2 separate regions of the Homo sapiens genome follow, and region 2 is linked to region 1. Evidence: promoter capture Hi-C in 16 types of primary human blood cells and fetal thymus (Javierre and others, 2016). All regions are on one chromosome and are shown on one strand. Each heading gives the region's core, a stretch centred on a gene start or on the middle of the fragment in contact. The rest is flanking DNA. Distances are from core to core; before and after follow the strand shown. Region 1 holds the start of LRFN4 (leucine rich repeat and fibronectin type III domain containing 4). Region 2 holds the start of BRMS1 (BRMS1 transcriptional repressor and anoikis regulator).

Region 1 (6,310 bases), core at 1-2,500:
CATCCAACTCTCCTGGCCTACAGGAGGAACTTGTTTTCAGTGGTCAGGTAACGTGCCCAGGACTACACTGCTGTGCTGACAGGATCAGAATTCCAATCTTGGGTTTCCCCGAGTTTCCTGCCACCTGGCCCATGGGGATCAGGGCTGGAGGGAGAACGAGGATGGCTGAGGTTTAGGTGGCTTAAGGACCAGGAGACACGGGGAGGTGGTGACTTCCTGTTTCCCAACTGGGCAGACCACTGGTGGTGGCGGGCACAGCTGGAAGGAAACCAGGCTCGCCGAGCCACCGAAGCCCCAGCTTTCTCAACCAGGAAGCAAAGAACCTCCCCCACCTCACGCCGGGAGCCCTTTCTCTGAGAGGAGCTGGTTCCGAGCCGCTCTTCCAGGGAAATGGCCCGGCGGCGACAGAGCGGGAGGGAGGGGCCGCAGGCGCTGCGAGGACGCACAGCTTCCCAATGCGTGCCCCCGGCGGTTGGGAAGCCGCGCCGCGCAGACCAATCCGGCCCGAGGCGGAGGCCGGTTGGCTCCGGAACGCCTGGCCCGCGGGGCGGGCGGGGCAGCTGGGGAGGGAGGGAGAGGCGAGAGGCAGCTGGGGACAGGGCGGGGCGGCGGGGGCGGGGCGCCTGCCCGGAGGCCAAGCCCTCTCGGCCCCACCCCGCAGCAGCCCTGCCAGGGGCGCCGCCCCAGCCCCCCCCACGGCCGAACCCCGTGCCGGTTGGGGACCCTCCACGTGACTCGGTGATGCAGAACGGTTATGACCTTCAGCGTGTGTCTGTGAACGCAAGGGTCCCAGCAACAGTGCGGGTTTGCGCTCGGCCCTGCCCGTGGGTGCAGGGACGTGTGGGTGTGTGGGCATGTGTGGGTGTGTTGGGGAGGGTGCCCAGCGACATGTGACAAAGACGCCCGTCTCCGGGAGATGGTGAAGGGGCCCGCGAGCAGGCGCTTTGTCTGGCTGTCTGCAGAGTGAGGTTCGCGCCGCGGCGGCGGGCGCCCGTGCGGTGCAGGATGCCGGGGCGCCAGGATGGCCGGGGGCGCGCGCGCCTGTGCCAGGGTGAGTGCGCTGCGGCAGCGCCGGGGGACAGCGCGGAGGGCCCGCGCCGGCCCGGGCCTCGGGCGTGACTGGGCGCCACCCGTGGGCGCTGCAGCGGCCGCGTGTCCCCGTGACCTCAGGAGCCGGCCCGGGCCCGGGTGGATCCCCGCGCGCCCCTCCCCGTCCGCCCTCCACGTGCGTGTCCGCGGCGCGCGCGCCCGCCGGCGCGCACCCGCTCGCCTGTCGCCGCCGCCACCGCTAACCGCGCCGGGAAAAGGTGCCGGGAACCGAGCGAGCCGGGGCCGCGGGCCCGAGCGCCATGGGCCCGAGGGTGGGCGGCGGGCGGCCGGTCATCCCCGGGCCTCGTCCCCGCGGGAGAGCGGCCAGGAGTCGGCGGGGGCCGGCCGGGCTCGCAGGGAGGCCGGCCCGCGCCCCCTGAGCGACGGACACCAGGTGAGGGGGCCGCCGGGCGCAGCGCGGGGGCCGGCCAGGGAGGGGCCACGGACTCCACGGGAGGTTCGGGGGGCGCCTTCTCTGGCGGGGGAGGGTATGGCGGGGAGTGGGGAGGCGGCTGGCGATTCCTGGGGACGCCTGGGAAAGGAAGTTCCGGGACCCTCCCTGCTCTCGGTCCTCCTCCGCTTCCTGCCTCATGCCTCACCTTGTCCCCAGCGCCTGGACTCCCCCTTAACTGCTTGGGAAATGTGACCTTTGCTCTGGGGGGCCTGGCCCTGCAGGCCCCAACCTTCCCTCATCTCTGGCGGCCCTCTTGGGCCTCTGACCCAGCCCCTCCCCGGGCCAGGCTCACAGAAGCTGGCTTCTGGGACTGTCCTGGGCCCAAGTGGGCACCTGCGCCAGCCCCACCTGTGCCTGGGCTGTGGCCCCTTCCTACAGGGCGCTCACCATGGCCCCGCCGCTCCTGCTGCTGCTGCTGGCCAGTGGAGCGGCCGCCTGCCCGCTGCCCTGCGTCTGCCAGAACCTGTCCGAGTCGCTCAGCACCCTCTGTGCCCACCGAGGCCTGCTGTTTGTGCCGCCCAACGTGGACCGGCGCACAGTGGAGCTGCGGCTGGCTGACAACTTCATCCAGGCCCTGGGGCCCCCTGACTTCCGCAACATGACGGGACTGGTGGACCTGACACTGTCTCGCAATGCCATCACCCGCATTGGGGCCCGCGCCTTTGGGGACCTCGAGAGCCTGCGTTCCCTCCACCTTGACGGCAACAGGCTGGTGGAGCTGGGCACCGGGAGCCTCCGGGGCCCCGTCAATCTGCAGCACCTCATCCTCAGCGGCAACCAGCTGGGCCGCATCGCGCCGGGAGCCTTCGACGACTTCCTAGAGAGCCTGGAGGACCTGGACCTGTCCTACAACAACCTCCGGCAGGTGCCCTGGGCCGGCATCGGCGCCATGCCTGCCCTGCACACCCTCAACCTGGACCATAACCTTATTGACGCACTGCCCCCAGGCGCCTTCGCCCAGCTCGGTCAGCTCTCCCGCCTGGACCTCACCTCCAACCGCCTGGCCACGCTGGCTCCGGACCCGCTTTTCTCTCGTGGGCGTGATGCAGAGGCCTCTCCCGCCCCCCTGGTGCTGAGCTTTAGCGGGAACCCCCTGCACTGCAACTGTGAGCTGCTGTGGCTGCGGCGGCTGGCGCGGCCGGACGACCTGGAAACGTGCGCCTCCCCGCCCGGCCTGGCCGGCCGCTACTTCTGGGCAGTGCCCGAGGGCGAGTTCTCCTGTGAGCCGCCCCTCATTGCCCGCCACACGCAGCGCCTCTGGGTGCTGGAAGGCCAGCGGGCCACGCTGCGGTGCCGGGCCCTGGGTGACCCCGCGCCTACCATGCACTGGGTCGGTCCTGACGACCGGTTGGTTGGCAACTCCTCCCGAGCCCGGGCTTTCCCCAACGGGACCTTAGAGATTGGGGTGACCGGCGCTGGGGACGCTGGGGGCTACACCTGCATCGCCACCAACCCTGCTGGTGAGGCCACAGCCCGAGTAGAACTGCGGGTGCTGGCCTTGCCCCATGGTGGGAACAGCAGTGCCGAGGGGGGCCGCCCCGGGCCCTCGGACATCGCCGCCTCCGCTCGCACTGCTGCCGAGGGTGAGGGGACGCTGGAGTCTGAGCCAGCCGTGCAGGTGACGGAGGTGACCGCCACCTCAGGGCTGGTGAGCTGGGGTCCCGGGCGGCCAGCCGACCCAGTGTGGATGTTCCAAATCCAGTACAACAGCAGCGAAGATGAGACCCTCATCTACCGGTGAGGATGCGTGCCCCACACCCGGCTGCACTCCCGGCGCCCTTCCTCCGCCCTCTGCTCCCCACAAGGCTTTGCTTCCACCCCTCCTCTCTCTGGGGCTGACACCCCCTCCCCGACCATGGCTGCTGGACTCTTGGAGGAGCAGTGGCCTGGCCTGGCCTGGCTGCCTGAGGGGGCTGGAGCTCAAGGGGCGGCAGAAGGACCCCACCCCGAGATGTCCCAGGTGTCACTGAGCTGTGCAGGCCTCCCCGGCAGCAGGTGGCGGTTGGGTCTGTCTGAAGCACATGGCCCGCGCCCGCGTGTTATTTCTGCCTCTGCTGGTGCCATCCCCCCACCCCATTCCCCTCGCTTGCCTGCGTCCTGTGCCAGTGCACACACCCATCTCCTGGCCACACTCTCCAGCCTGTTCACCTTCCTGAGTGAACCCAAGAGCCCGAGTGGCCCCAGGGGGAGGGGTGTTTGGAGCTGGGAGCACGGGAGTGGGGAGGTGAGGATGGGGCTAGACCCCAGCCCCGGGCTCTGACCACCTGCCCTTGCCTGCAGGATTGTCCCAGCCTCCAGCCACCACTTCCTGCTGAAGCACCTCGTCCCCGGCGCTGACTATGACCTCTGCCTGCTGGCCTTGTCACCGGCCGCTGGGCCCTCTGACCTCACGGCCACCAGGCTGCTGGGCTGTGCCCATTTCTCCACGCTGCCGGCCTCGCCCCTGTGCCACGCCCTGCAGGCCCACGTGCTGGGCGGGACCCTGACCGTGGCCGTGGGGGGTGTGCTGGTGGCTGCCTTACTGGTCTTCACTGTGGCCTTGCTGGTTCGGGGCCGGGGGGCCGGAAATGGCCGCCTCCCCCTCAAGCTCAGCCACGTCCAGTCCCAGACCAATGGAGGCCCCAGCCCCACACCCAAGGCCCACCCGCCGCGGAGCCCCCCGCCCCGGCCGCAGCGCAGCTGCTCTCTGGACCTGGGAGATGCCGGGTGCTACGGTTATGCCAGGCGCCTGGGAGGAGCTTGGGCCCGACGGAGCCACTCTGTGCATGGGGGGCTGCTCGGGGCAGGGTGCCGGGGGGTAGGAGGCAGCGCCGAGCGGCTGGAAGAGAGTGTGGTGTGATGGACGGGCAGCTTCCTGTGTGCTCCAAGGGATGAGCCTCGTGGGGCAGAGGGCCCGGGGCCGCCGCCTGGCCTGGGAGTCCCTCCCTGGTTTTTATTCTCAGTACCTCAGGCTCCCCTGTGTACTTGGAGGGGCAGGGAGCCCTTTCCTCGGTTCTGGCCTCCAGACCAGGGTAAGGGCAGGCCCCTCCAACAGGTGCTCACAGCCACCGAGGCAGGGGCTGCAGCCACCCACTGGGAGTCTTGTTTTTATTTATAATAAAATTGTTGGGGACACCTCAGTGCTAGTCTCTGGTGTTGTCTGGCTAGGTCCCCCGAGACGGGAGGACAGGACACGGGCCGCTGGTGGCACACGGACAAGGGTGGGGCTACCAGGGCCGGTGGGGGCAGTCACAGCAGCCTGGGGCCTCCTGGCTTCCTGTCCACAGGGGCGGCCCAGGGCTGCGGCCAAGGGCTGTGCCTGGTGTCTTCTGACCTGCAAGAGCATGGGCTTGGGCAGGCGGCCTACCCTCGCCTGTAAGTGCAAAGAACGCCCCTTCCTGCCAGGTGGCGACAGGACGCCGTATCCAGTGTAAAGCCTGGGGAGCACGTGTGAGCGCCTTCCCCATGGCACTTCAGGGTCTGCGGGGCGGACACAGGACTGGACTAAGCAACAGGAGGAGGTGGGGGACGGTACAGCCCTCTGGGAGAACGGACCTGGGCTGAGCGTACAGTGAAAAGTCCTCATGGCTCCAGGTGCTGACAGCTGTGTCTGCCACCTCCCAGGGCATCTTGTGGACTGGTAAAACGCCATCCCAAAGGGACTGGAAGGGCAGGGAACCCCACTGCTCTGCCATCAGCCCGTGATCCTCTGGAAGGTTCCTGTCAGAACTGTGGGTCCGAGCAGGACCGCAGCTGCCAGCTCAGATGTGCTCTGGGCCTTCCTGGGAAGGCGGCCTTCGCCCTCCCTCGCTGCAGGGAGGCAGCCGGATGGGCACGAGCCCTGCTTTCTCTGCTAGGACCCCTGGCCAGGCCCGGGCAGCCTCCGACCTGGCCCAGCCCCTGCAGCCTCCTGAACTATCTGCTTCTAGGCACTGGCTGGGGGGCATGGGCAGACGTGGCCCTCAGCCCTGCAGAGGGTCAAGCTCCCCCAGGTGCTGTATGAAAACTCAGAAGGCGGCCCTGGCACCCCAGGCCACGGCAAACACGCTGCACAGACTCCCTGGTGTTTTCTGTGTGAGGGCCAAGGCGCTGCCACCGGGCAGCCGAGGTGAGGCAGGTGCTCTAAGGCATACGTGTGTTCACGTGTGCATGGACCTGGCTCACACGCGTGTGCCTGCCCTCCCAGCCCCAGAACATGCAGCTAGAGGTGGGCTTCGAGAGCCTGGTTTAGATGAATGGGAGCAAGGTCCTCGACAGAGAAGGGTGTGGGGAGCGAACGCCATGGAGGAGTGGGCGGGGGCGCGGGACAGGGTGGGTGGGCACAGACGGCAAAGGGACAGGAGGGCCAGGGCTGCCACGCTGGGCGCTAGCATGAGGCTCAGGAGGCGGCTAGAGCCAGCGGCCTGGTCTTGGTGCACATTTGGGGAGGACTTGGCACCCCCAGACACCAGAGACACTTATCCTGCTGCTGGCCCCGTGGTCACGGTCTCTAGTGCCCCTTTCTCCACCTGGGGGGCGGGGGACGGTCTAAAGAGGAAGATCTTTCCGGGCCCTCCAGGGTGCAGAAGCCCACCTCTAGCTGCACCCCTAGCAGGCGCAAGGTTCTAGGGCCCAGGGACCAGCTTGGCACGTGGGGAGCTGCTGAGGGTGAGGAGGGAGCAGAGGAACCGGGCACAACCCCAGGAGCCAGCCAGGACCACAGAGCAACGGGCAGGGGCAGGCGAGGGGGATGGCCTGGGTCACCCCTGTGCATGGCCACGCATCCCCTCAACACCGAAGCAGCCGCAG
Region 2 (6,310 bases), core at 1,456-3,955, 520 kb before region 1:
CTCACCCTCACCTCGTCTTAGGTCAGCTGGCTGAGGCCCATCCCATCTCACTCTGCAGCACTGGCCCTAACCTGGCCCCTTCCCTGATCCAAAGACAGACGCAGGGCTTATCCCTTCAGAGACAACTCTCCCTCCCCCAGTGCTCCCTACTTGATGTCTCCATGCCTTCACCTTCCATTCACTCAAGTCATGGCCTTCCAGATTCCTCCCTCCCTGCCTGGGCCTGCTCTCCAGCACCAGGTTGCCATAATGACTAAGACTGGCTGCTGCAGGAATACCCTCAGGGGTGCAGGAGGACTCAGCTCTGCCAGGACAGATGAAAGCACAGCAGGCCCTGGACTAAGCTTAAGCTAGCCCTGCCTAGGAAGGGGTGGAGGCAGCCAGTGCCCTCTGGGATGTGGGTACCCCATGGTAGGGCACAGAAGCACACAGGAAAGTGAAGCCATAGGCACCAGGGTAAGACCAGAAGAGGCCTCACAGAGGAGGTAACGTTTGAGATGAGCCCTGGACAGTCGGGACAGGCAGGACTTCCAAGAGGAGGGTGGGATATGAGCAAAGGCTCCCCAGGGAAAGCTGGGGACCCGCTCGGACAACCCCGGGAGATGGAAAGGCCTCAAAGGCCAAACCTCACTCAGGCTCAAGTGCAGTGGCACCATCACGGCTCACTGCAGCCTTGATCTCTCAGGCTCAAGCAATCCTCTTACCTCAGCCTTCAGAGTAGCTGGGACTATAGGTGCACACCACCACGCCTGGCTAATTTTTGTTATTTTTTCTAGAGATGGGTTTCACCATGTTGCCCAAGCTGGTCTCGAAAAGAACTCCTGGGCCCGAGCAATCTACCCGCCTTGGCCTCCCAAAGTGCTGGGACTGTAGATGTGAGCCACGGAGCCCAGCCCGTTTCTGTTTTCCTAGGGTTCACATAGCCCAGAGAGACCCAGGACCCCGTAAGAAACTGCTGACAGCTGGATTTGCCTGGACATATTCACATGACACCAAGCAACCACGAGTGCATCTAGTGTGACTGTCCTCCATGTCCCCTCCAACCCCCTCCCCTGGGTCTGGAGTTGACCCTTACATCCTGCCCACTTTTAGGCCACCTTGGGTGAAAGGATACCAGAAACCAGAGGTGCCTTCTTCCTCTTGCTGGGCGGCAGGGAGTCCCAAGACCTGGAGCTGCCTCTGGCGTGCAGTTTGTCATCCCACCATTCTGCCCCGAGACCCAGAGTTAGAATTGGGGTGCTGGCCCACAGGATACTCCCTTTTCTGTAGCCTCTGCCTCCACCATGGGCCGGCCTGGCCTCATCTCCCCTGTCCCATCACCACCCTGGGCTTGGGGTAGAAGCCCCTTAGGGCTGTTCAGGTCCTGCCTGCACAGCTGCACAACCCTGGGAAGAGGTCACTGCACTTCTGTGAGCCTCATCTGTTTAGTGGAGAGTGGGATGACGACAATTCCTGCCACCCCAGGACTCCACGTGAACACAGGTACTATGAACATGGAGGGGACTAGAGCTATTGCATGTGACTGCATGTCACACTGATACCTGTTTTGGAAAGAGCAGGGGCAGAAGAGGCAGGGAGACCCACTCTGCTTGAGCCCCCATTATGTGCCAGGCCCTTTCCAGGCCTGGTCTCCTTCAGCCCTCACACTGACCCCAACAGGCAGGTCCTCTGGCTGTCCCCTTGACTTCAGGACATCTGAAGCCCAAAGAGGGGTGGGCGTGGACTGAGCGGGGCCCAGTTCCGGGGTGCCCAGGCTCTCGCGCTTACCAGAGCTGAGGTCCAGGCTCTGGCGGTCCTCCTCCAGCCTCTGGATCCGCTCCTGCAGCTCCCCCTGCAGCGTGTCATAGAGCAGCAGCTTCTCACTCTGGAAGAGGGGGCAATAGCTCAGCAGGACGGATGGGGTGAGGCCACTTCAGGCTTTGTGCCCTGCCTCACCCCCAGTGTGCCCAATCAGGCCCACCTCCAGGTGCTGTTTGGCTCCCTGCAGCTCACATTCGTACTTATTCCTGATCACATCCAGACAGAAGCCCTTGTAGATCCCTGCAGAGAAAGGGAGGAGGGTCCCTGCTTGGCTGGGGAGCCCGGTGCCCACATAGGAGGGCTGAGAGCAAAGGGCAAGGCCGGGCAGGAACGAGAGAGGAAGGGGACAGGGTGCCACGGGTTCTGGGAGGGGAAGAGGGTACAGAACCACCCACAGACCTGCCACCTGAATGCGAATCTTGAGGCTCCGCTGCAGCCCCCCAAGGGGCTCCGTGTATTCAGGGGCTCTCTCAGCCCCCACTTCCTCCAGCCGCAACCGCAGCTGACTCAGTCGTTCCCTGAACAACCTGCGTGGTAAAAAGGCAGCCGTGCACCCATTTGCTCACCCATCGCTCTTGGGCAAACACATACCCAGCACCCATTCCACAGCAAGCCCGGTGTTAGGCGCGCACTTCCTGGGCACCAACCACGCCTGCCCAGTACCAGGCCCACCACCTCCTCATCCCAGATCCTCGCAGACCCAGCCCAAGGTGTCCCCACGCTCACTTCTCCTTTAGCTCCGAGAACTGCTTCTCTAGGTCCAGCATCTCACTGACACACTCGCTGCGGCGTCGCTCATAGTCCTCATCATCCATCTCTGGGACAAGAGGCCAGTAAGGGCTAGCTCTGGGGAGGAGTGGTGGGTACCCGCATGTGTGCATGTGCGTCCTGCATGTGTGTGTGTGCATGCATGCCTGTGTGTAGGGCCTGTGTGTGTGTGCGCGTACATGCTTGTGTGAAGGGGCTGTGTGTGTGCGTGTGTGCTTGTGTGTAGGGGCTGTGTGTGCATATGCGTGCGTGCTTGTGTGAAGGGGCTGTGTGCACGTGTACTTGTGTGAAGGGGCTGTGTGTGTGCATACGTGCTTGTGTGTAGGGGCTGTGTGTGCGTGCTTGTGTGTAGGGGCTGTGTGTGCGTGTGTGCGCTTGTGTGCAGGGTCTGTGTATGTGCTTGTGTGTAGGCGCTGTATGTGCATGTGCGTGCATGCTTGTGTGTAGGGGCTGTGTGTGTGCATGTGTGTGTGTAGGGGCTCTGTGTGTGTGTGTGTGTGTCTGTGTGTGTAGGGGCTCACCGGAGCTCTCCTCTTCTGACTCTGTCTGGCTGCCGCTCCGCTCCTCCTCACTCTCTTCCTCCTCCCCATTCATCTCAGCAGCAGAATCACCCTCTGCTTCCATCTCTTCTGTGTCTTTGCTTGGAGGCTGGACAGGCATCTGGACTCTGGGAGAAGGAATGGAGCTATCACTTATGGCTGCCCACAGCTCAGAGGGGGAAAGAGGCAGCAGGATGCTGAACACAACTCGATCCCAGATGGGGAAAGCCAGGGAAGTAACTGGCCTGGCCACACCTTGAGCACAAACTGGGTGACAAGGGTGCAAATGGCCATCTGCACCTCTCACAGAAGGCTGGGAGCTGTGGAACTGCTCCTGCTCTTGGATGTCACTGGTGATCCTAATCCTAGCAATACTGGCCAAGGCTGTGATCCACAGAAAGGAAAGGCCCAGGGGGCACTCTCCACTGCCTTTGCAACTGGACCTAAATTTCTTTTCTTCTTATTATTTTTTGAGACAGAGTCTCGCTCTGTTGACAAGCTGGAGTGCAGTGGCACGATCTCAGCTCACTGCAACCTCCTCCTCCTGGGTTCAAGCGATTCTCCTGCCTCAGCCTCCTGAGTAGTGAGATTACAGGCGCCCGCACCACACCCAAACTGGACCTAAATTTCTAACTGGGGCTTTCAAGGTCTTTCCCAGACTGGACTTGACCTACCGGTCCAGCTCCTTCATCCCAACATATAATGGCTAGTGCTTGCACTTCCACTATCCACCCTCTGCCTCAGCTGTTCCTTCTGCCTATAATGTCCTCGGCTTCTCTTCCAGATAATGTTACAATCTCCTTGTCTTTCATTGTGCTCTGGGTCAAATCCCATCTCCTTCTGCTTCCTCTTGGACCGCAGGTCATCAGTGCTCCCCTCTCTTTTCTGTGTCTTCAGCTTCTAACTCTTAGCAACCTCCTTCCCATGAAACTTTGGATGTGCTTGGGTACTTCCTAGCATTAACAAAACACAGAAACACAAAACCTCACCCATTCCACCTAACTGCTCCATTTGCCACTTCACAGTTACACTTTTCAAGGTCTCATGAACACTGGCTGTTCCTACTTTCACCTCCCACTTGTTCGATGTCCTCAATCTCAGCTGAAACTGATCCCGTAGCATTAACCAATGACTTCCTTGTGGCTAATGCCAATATTTTTCAGTGCTTATTTTAATTGTCTGCTCGGCAACATCCAACACTGGTAAGCATTCCTTCTTTTACTGACTCATCTAACATGTATTGAACATCTAACATATGCTAGGTACCGTCAGACGCTATGGTATGCAGGCGCCCAAGTGTGAATGTCTTTGACCTCACGGAGTTTACAAGTTCCTGGGAGACAGGGGCAAAGGAGCACACTATAACCATGATAGGAGGAGAGTTAAGACCAGGGGCATAAGGGAGGGGTATATAACCAGGACCTGGAGCCCGATGCAGCAGGGAGGCTTCCAGACAAAGATGGACCAGCTGGGTGAGCTGCACTTATTGAGGGAACATTCCAGGTAGAGTCAGTAGCAAAGACCCAGAAATAAGAGAAGGAAAGCAGCTGGGGGAACATGGGTCTAAGTCTCAGTGAGAAATCTGAGCTGCAGGGATTTGGTCGTCAGCATACAGCAAGTTCTTCATGCCACAGGAGAAGGTGCAACCAGCAAGGCACAATGTGTGCGATCAGAAGACGCCCAGGGTCACCAAAGGGGCAGATGAGGAGACCCCTACAAAGGAGGAGGCAAAACCCGAAGTGGTGGAGAAAGAGTTTTAGAAGAAAGCCAAGTACTGCCAAGGAGTAATTGCACTGATAGTGCCAAGTACTGCCAAGAGATCACCTAAGAAGAAGAAAACAGTCCTCTCAGCAGATAATCTCTCAACCTCCTGCAGGCTTCTATTTTATTGTGTTCTTCCAACTTCTCTGGACACTGCTTTGTAGTCCTTTAGAACAGTGCAGACACCACTCCCTCCAGGAAGCTTTGTTTATATCTATTTGCCTGTTCTCATATCTGTCCCCGCAATCAGTCTATGAGCCTCACTAGGGCAGGGGCTGCACATGTAACTTATTTACCTAGCACAGTGCTGGTTCACTTGATGACTGGAGGATTTGCAAATACAAATTTAACAAAAAAATTTTTTGTGAGACAGACATTAGTTTTTACTTTTCGGTAGTCCCAGGTCCCTGTAATGGTAGCAAGCTTTCCTTGACACCAGTTCAAGTTGTGTATAGTAAGCCTGGCCTAGGTGAGTGTTTAGTCATATTCCTCAACAATTTCACTAATGACCTGCACCTGACTTGAAAGGCTCGGTTCTCTAAACCAGCTTCATCTTCCCGTTATCAAGCCTCAGTTCCCAACATTTGCAATGCCTCTTCACTGTTAGTATATTCACTTTGTAAGATGCAGCTTAAGTCTATCTCTTCCAGAAGCCTTTCTTTCCTCCCCCTGGTTCTGATTATGAGTGAGTTAAGTCACAACCTTCCCACCTTACCCCGGGTGCAAAAAGCGGATAACCATTCCTGCTCTGAGTGTTGAGGAGCTCACAGGTGGTAAGGGATGGAAAAGCACACTGTAAAGCGCTGTACACAGGCAATTTATCTTTTCAGAATGGCAGCTCCTCCGGGGCAGGCCCCTAGGGAAGGCAGACCCTCCCCACTCTCGCAGAGGTCAATCCAGCTTCTCCGCAGCGCCCAGGGGGCCTCCCGCTCCCTTCTAGATGCGCCGGAGCGGGCCGGAATATCACTGGCTCGCCCGCAGCCCAGCACGCGTCAGGCCGGTTAAATCTCTGCTTCGGCCTCGGAGGAGGAGGTTGTGCCGGCCCTGCTCGACTAACCGGAGAGGGCGAACCAAAAGCCATGCATGACGATACGCACCGCGGGGACTGGAGCCTCTGGCCTCACGACGGAGATTCCCTGAGAGCTGCCCGTGGTTGCCGGTACCGGCTGCTGCCGCCGGACTCCCGTAGGCGCTGCGCGGCTCCCTTTTCTTCGGGAGGCAGAGCCTATCGGTGCTTCCGTGTGCGTCATCAGGAGGCGACCGTCGGGGATGCTCACAGTTGGACAGTTTGGTCCCGAGGCATGCTGGGATACCGCGGGCCGGTCTCCATAGTAACTGGCCGACATTCGCGCAGGCCTTCGGCCTGCAGGGAAGGCCCTGATGGTTCAGTGCTTTGCAGACGGTGCCCTTCGTCCGCGGCCATCTCCCCACGGCGTGCAAGG

What was found. The method cuts DNA at HindIII sites, captures the fragments that hold promoters and counts their contacts. A CHiCAGO score of 5 or more calls a contact.
Region 2: a contact is called between a fragment that was not itself captured here and the fragment with the promoter of LRFN4 in region 1, in 1 of 17 cell types (neutrophils). The highest score is 5.3, in neutrophils.

The regions. Positions count from the first base shown.
Region 1 is chr11:66,855,814-66,862,123 of GRCh38, forward strand. It overlaps LRFN4 (leucine rich repeat and fibronectin type III domain containing 4), which reads left to right and starts at 1,251. Exons shown (of 2, transcript NM_024036.5): 1 at 1,251-3,280; 2 at 3,824-4,662. The coding sequence starts at 1,932. The coding sequence ends at 4,382. The region is part of intron 12 of PC (pyruvate carboxylase); the gene reads right to left. RefSeq lists silencers at 337-866, 1,027-1,136. The HindIII fragment of the contact is 17,472 bases long and covers 1-6,310 here.
Region 2 is chr11:66,339,007-66,345,316 of GRCh38, forward strand. It overlaps BRMS1 (BRMS1 transcriptional repressor and anoikis regulator), which reads right to left and starts at 6,098. Exons shown (of 10, transcript NM_015399.4): 1 at 5,966-6,098; 2 at 3,090-3,235; 3 at 2,527-2,617; 4 at 2,200-2,327; 5 at 1,961-2,040; 6 at 1,768-1,864; 7 at 1,115-1,207. The coding sequence starts at 3,228. RefSeq lists enhancers at 5,838-6,310, 5,844-6,273. The HindIII fragment of the contact is 4,726 bases long and covers 343-5,068 here.